2 separate regions of the Homo sapiens genome follow, and region 2 is linked to region 1. Evidence: promoter capture Hi-C in 16 types of primary human blood cells and fetal thymus (Javierre and others, 2016). All regions are on one chromosome and are shown on one strand. The core of a region is centred on a gene start or on the middle of the fragment in contact, and the rest is flanking DNA. Distances in the headings are between cores, read along the strand shown. Region 1 holds the start of SLC46A3 (solute carrier family 46 member 3). Region 2 holds the start of FLT3 (fms related receptor tyrosine kinase 3).

Region 1 (2,845 bases), core at 160-2,659:
TTCCGAGAGAAAGGAGAAGAGCTAGTGTCACAGAGCAGGAGGGTGTTTTAAGAAGAAGAGGCAGATTTGAAAGGTGTCAGGAAACTTCAAATGAGGTGAGTTCCCAGTAAAGGCCATTAGGTTTGGGATTTAGGACTTTGATGGCCGCCCTAGAGAGACCAATGGATGATGAGTTCACGGTCCTCTTTAACTCAAAGCCCGGTATACATTCCCATTTTATTAAATACTATGGATATTGTAATTTCTTACCTCCTGGAATGCAAAAATTGGGCTGCTTTTGTTTTTTTCACACTCAGAAATATTGCTATCAGATGAAAAAGTGTAGTTGCCAGTTTCTTCCCATATTCTCCGATAAACATATTGCGTTGTCAGTGGACCGGTCAAAGTCATAGCAAATGCACTAAGGAAAATGGCAGGTTCTACAAATAAAATCTTCATATTGCCTGGGTAGGTAGCTGTATTCTATAAAAAGTGAAAACGGAGAAAGATCATCTGTCTCATCCCAGAGGCTAGATATTCAAAGATGGGTAAGTTTGAGCAATTTTGTGGAGTAAATGTTTAAACAAGCAAACTAGAGAACAGAAAAGGCAGTAAGCACTTTCTCAGAGAATAACTTTTACTTTGGAGTAGAGTACTCTGTAACAACCTGAGGCTGCCATGCTTTCCATTTTTATGAGTAGGACATTGTAGGACTCAAGCCGCCTTTGAGTCTTTGAAATCATAAACTGTCACCCATCTTGGTTAGCCAATGATCACAGTACAGTTCCCACACTGTATATTGCCAACTGATTTTTCGTAAGTTCAACAATGAGGTTCCTTTTGGGAAGCGACAGTTGCACAATTGTTATTGTTATTTTGCTGCGTATTAAAAACGGACAGGGAGGGGGCGTTTTAAAAAGCAGCTCCCAATCGAAAGGGCCTTATTTTTAACTCACCCCACGATTACAGTCTTCCTGCCAGGCTGGGTACAGGTCGGGCCGTGCCAGGGGCTGTCGCCTCGGATGCCCTGCGCTCGTGCGCGCCCGGGTTCAAGGGCAGCCTCTGGACTGGGGCAACAGAGGACGCGCCGGGGACAGTAACCTCGGACTACGCGGCCGGCGCTGGGGTGGGGAGAGTACTTTCCCGTCGAACTCGACCAAATTACGCTTGTCGGGGAGTCTCAAGCGTATTGTAAAGCAAACCTCGGCAAGCGCACTTCCGCGTCCCGAGTGACACCTGCAGGGTTCTCCGGCAGCCCTCGGCTTCCCCGCGGCCCTGCGGACCTCGGCCTCAGCGCGGCGCGGCGGGGCGCGGAGCAGCTGCTCCTTCTGCGCAGTGGACAATCGGCCAATCGGCGCCTCCGTCGGTCGGTCAGCGGCCCTGCCAGCGCTAGGCGATGACTCGGCCGCAGCCAGCTGAGCATCGCTGTCCGCCGAGGAGGCGGGGTCGGCTGCCGCGGCGCTGTCACTGTTCTACCCGGCTCTCCTGCGATTGGGCCCAGCGGTCGGTGCCCCAGCGGCGATTGGTCCACCCGGACGTCACTCTCCCCTGGAGAGTGGCTAGTGGATCGTGCACCCACCCTCGGAGGCCCGGAGTGGATCCCGCGCGACCGAGCAGCCACTCAGCACCGCTGTTGAGTGGTGGGCCGCGCCGCAGGCTCAACAGCTCTGGAGTTGCAAAGCATTTCTGAATCCGAATATCCTTTCTCATAGAAACACATAAAACAACAGTTGGAAAAGTAACATGTTTGGGCTGTAGCCCCCAGCAGGATCCCGGTCGGCCCGCAGAAGAGGGGAATGGGCGCAGGTGGAGGGCATAGGAAAGAGAGTGCTCAATGCAGAGTTAGCGGAGGGTTGGAATGTGGTCGCTGGCTTTTCCTGGGGAGGGGAGGGGGGACTTGGGCAAATCGTTAAATTTTCATGAACCTCCATGTCTTTATCTGCCACGTGGGGATGATAAGTCTTACAGGGTTGTCTAATTAAACACTCAGCATGTATACACAACACAGCCCCTGGACATAGGAGGAGTTGTCAGTGCTCTCCAACACACCCACCAGGAACAACTTGTAGTAAAAGAATTGAGCTACTACTTCTTGAAGCCAGGAGAAATGCATGCATGAGGAACCGTGGGGGCATCTCAGTAAGAAGGTGTTAGAATTTACTATGGGCTTGCGTTATGTGATTTTGGGAAGAGTTCAAGAAAGCAAGGCCTTACTCTGGATTGGTTGCTGTCAGGAAATGGCAGTAATTCTATGATTGGGTATCTTAATAAGTCTTATTTAGGAGTCAAGACTAGACAGAGGCTAAAGCCATGAATGATAAAGAAGCAACAGTCACACATATTTGTCATTTTTGTGGTTTAGACAGTGCCTAAATTTTGTCCGTGTTCAGACAAAATTATGACGTGGTCTTGTTTTTGTCTTGATCATGGTTACAGAATGCTCTTGTCTGACTTTGGTGTTCCGTGAAATTGTTTTCATTCGACAGAACACCATGGTCCAGAAAAGTTCTTAGCAACACCAAGGCCCAGCTGATAGTTCCAGCACCTGGATGTCAGAGCTGCTTTCTCTTCCTCAGCACTCCTTAAATGACAGTTGTGTCACTGAATGCAGAGTTAAACGTCTTAGGTTTGAGTCCTAACTGATACTTAGTAGCTGGTAACCTTGGACTTGCCACTTAATCTTACTTCCCAGCTTCTTCAAATCAGCATTTATGAAGCACTTGTTATGAGTTTCAAACAATGGAGCATGGATATTGGAAAGAAGATAAACAAACATGAGTAAGATACAGTTTGCAAGGAAGACATAATATTTTAAGTTGCAGTACTTTGTACTAAGTACTATATTATTCTAAACGGCACTTAGAAG
Region 2 (2,845 bases), core at 220-2,719, 620 kb before region 1:
TCTGGAGAGAGAGACATAGAAATTTCTGAATTCTTTCCTAAATAGAAAAGAATTCCATGCAGCTTAAATATCGTTGCAAGTATTGATGCTTATACCTTTAGAAAGCCCATTATGCTTCTGAAAAATGCACTTACTACTTAATATCATACATAATAGAAAGCTAACATTTTGTATTAACGGAATCTGGAAAACATATTGTACTACACATTTGAAATTACAGATTTACTAACTAGTAAAGATAACTATTTAAGAACTAAAATGTCTTTGTTTTTCAACTCTTTTCCCCCGATTTCCATTTTTTACTTTTTATATTTCAGAATTATTTGTAACAAAAGCTATTGGATATAATTCCTGCACTTCTATATTGCAAGCATTTTCTCTATTTACCACAGAGACTTCAAGTCCTAGCATTTCAGAGCTGAAGGGGACTCGGACGGACTCCCTCACTGCACAGATGAGGACGCGGAGGCCGGGGGAGGTGAGTGTCAGTCCCAAGGTTGCAGACCTAGGACAGGGACCGGAGCTGCCGGGCACCCAGAACTCTGTCGCCTTCAACCCAAATTCGATTCAGTCCTCTCATCTTTCCAAATAGAAAGCTGACGCGAACCGATGGGAAGATTTTTTTTTTCAATAACAACTATGCTACCCAGCAGATTCTTTGGGGACAGTCCTCGGAGTCCTTGAAAACCCCTTTGGGGTTTATGCCAGGATAAGAAGAGACTAGAAGAAAGGGACAGCTAGTATTTTAATATGTAAATCTGTTTGCATAATATTTCCTAGGTAAACTATTCGTTGATCCAACCAAAATTCGGCGGGGCTGGGGGGTATCGTTATTGAGGATGACTCGCTCTAGGGGAGAACGCGGACGCATTTTCCCATCAGAGTTCCCTCCATAAATCAAAACCTCAAAAGAAGAGTTAAAGACGACACCCAGGTGTCTACAGTATCCAAGGGCCGGGCCAGGAGAGGTCCTTGGCCACCTGGCGCCGAGTTCGCGGCCGCAGACTCCCACGGACGGCCCAGCACCCGAGCGCGCGGGCCGAGCTGCCCCAGACCCGGCGCAGCGCCTCGGCGAGGCCGTCTGCGAAGTCCGGGCCGCCACTCGGGACCGCGGCCCGAGCCAGAGGAGAGACTTCGGAGAAGAGGGAAGAGGACGCGGGGTGGGAAACGCCGGGGCCGCAGGCAAGTAGTGGGCGAGTCCGGAGGGCGCGAAAGAGGGGAGGGGCGCGGGAGGCAATGGAAGGAGCGAGCGCGGGGAGGAGCGAGGCGGCTGGGCCGGAGGAGGCGCGCGCCCGGGTCCACACTGCGGGGTGGGGGCTGAGGGACCGCGAGGGGCTGCGAGCGAGCGAGCGGGGCCTTACCGAGCAGCGGCAGCTGGCCGCCGTCGCGCGCCAACGCCGGCATGGCCTCCGGAGCCCGGGGTCCCCAGGCCGCGCCGGCCCAGCCCTGCGATGCCGCCTGGAGCGGCGCGCCTCGCGCTGCAGGTGGCTCTCTTAAGGATGCGCGTCACCGACCGCAAATTCCCTCGGACTGGTGCAAAGTGGAAGGGGGGAGGAACCCTCTCCCCAGAGGCAGGGACCGAGGCGGGAGCGGAGAGGTTGGGCAGAGCCGAGCAGCCGGTGCCTGGCGCAGCGCTGCAGCCGAGCCCACGTGCCCGCCGCGGTCCGCAGCCTGTGCTCGGCGGCCCCCGGGGCTCCCCGACTGCGGCGGGGAAGATTGGGCGCGGTCCCGCCGGAGAAGTTGCACTGGCTCCGCGGCTCTGCCGCCTTGCTGCCCCTGTGAGTCCCCGAACTCTGTCGTTTGGATCCGGGGCGTGGGGACTGCAGGGAGCCACAAACCACCCTCCTAGTGCGCTGGGATCTTTGAGGCCCTGAGAAAGGCGCTGAATCCGCTCGGCACGCTGGCAACTCCCGCCAGCGCACAGGCGAGCATTCCATTAAGAACCATTCCATTCTTAATTGTGGACTGATTTCCTTTGTCTCTGCCTCCATCTCCTAGGATGCTCAGGACCCAGTCAGCGGCGGGATCAAGAAAAACAGGCAGGGTTTCAATGTCAACCAAGGCAATTAGGGAGGTTAACAAACAGCCTTCAAAACAAAACACACAGAAAATACATCCCAGAGGATGTTGCGAATCATCCGCTCAATAGTTCTTGTTCTTCATCGCATAATTTTTCGAGTTGAAAATTATTATTATTTTCTTTGCAATAAGTTGAGGATTGGAAAGCTCTGGATGCCAGTTCTGGTTCTTCCCTTACTTAACTAGCCGTTTGACCTCCACAAACCTCTGTTTACTCATCGTAAAGGAAAGGGATGGACCAAATGGTTCATAATGTCTCTCCCAATTCTAGGAATTCCACGCTCTTAATTATTTTAATTATTTTCTAATAAAGCATGAAAATTGACTGTTTACTCTTGGCCATACAGTTCTTTTCCTTAGATGTTGTCTACAGTACAATAATTCTTTCCCCTAGGGTATGGCAGAAACTTTAGAAGTGTCTACCATGGTGCAGCCACTATGGAAAACACTATAGAGGTTTCTCAAAAAATTAAAAAAAATACGGTCCAACAATTCCATTTCTGGCCATGTAGCCAAAAGAATTGAAAGCAGGGTCTTGAAGAGATGTCTGTACACCCGTGTTGAAAGCAGCATTATTCACAGTAGTCAAAAGGCAGAAGTAACCCATGTCCACAACAGATGAATGATAAACAAAAATGCAGTATATACATACGACTGAGTATTTTTCAGCTTTAAAGAGGAGGGAAATTCTGATACAGCTAAAATATGGATGAATCTTGACATTATGCTAAGTGAAATAAGCTAGTCCCAAAAAATACAATACTGT

Evidence for each region. Contacts are between HindIII fragments. The CHiCAGO score rates a contact against its expected background, and 5 or more counts as called.
Region 2: the fragment with the promoter of FLT3 here is called in contact with the fragment with the promoter of SLC46A3 in region 1 in 2 of 17 cell types (monocytes and naive CD8 T cells); the score reaches 7.2 in monocytes.

What each region holds. Positions count from the first base shown.
Region 1 is chr13:28,717,561-28,720,405 of GRCh38, forward strand. SLC46A3 (solute carrier family 46 member 3) reads right to left here and starts at 1,410. Exons shown (of 6, transcript NM_181785.4): 1 at 936-1,410; 2 at 250-462. The coding sequence starts at 438. The HindIII fragment of the contact is 12,183 bases long and covers 1-2,845 here.
Region 2 is chr13:28,099,107-28,101,951 of GRCh38, forward strand. It overlaps FLT3 (fms related receptor tyrosine kinase 3), which reads right to left and starts at 1,470. Exons shown (of 24, transcript NM_004119.3): 1 at 1,362-1,470. The coding sequence starts at 1,404. RefSeq lists silencers at 1,304-1,463, 1,584-1,643 and an enhancer at 1,754-1,883. The HindIII fragment of the contact is 16,771 bases long and covers 1-2,845 here.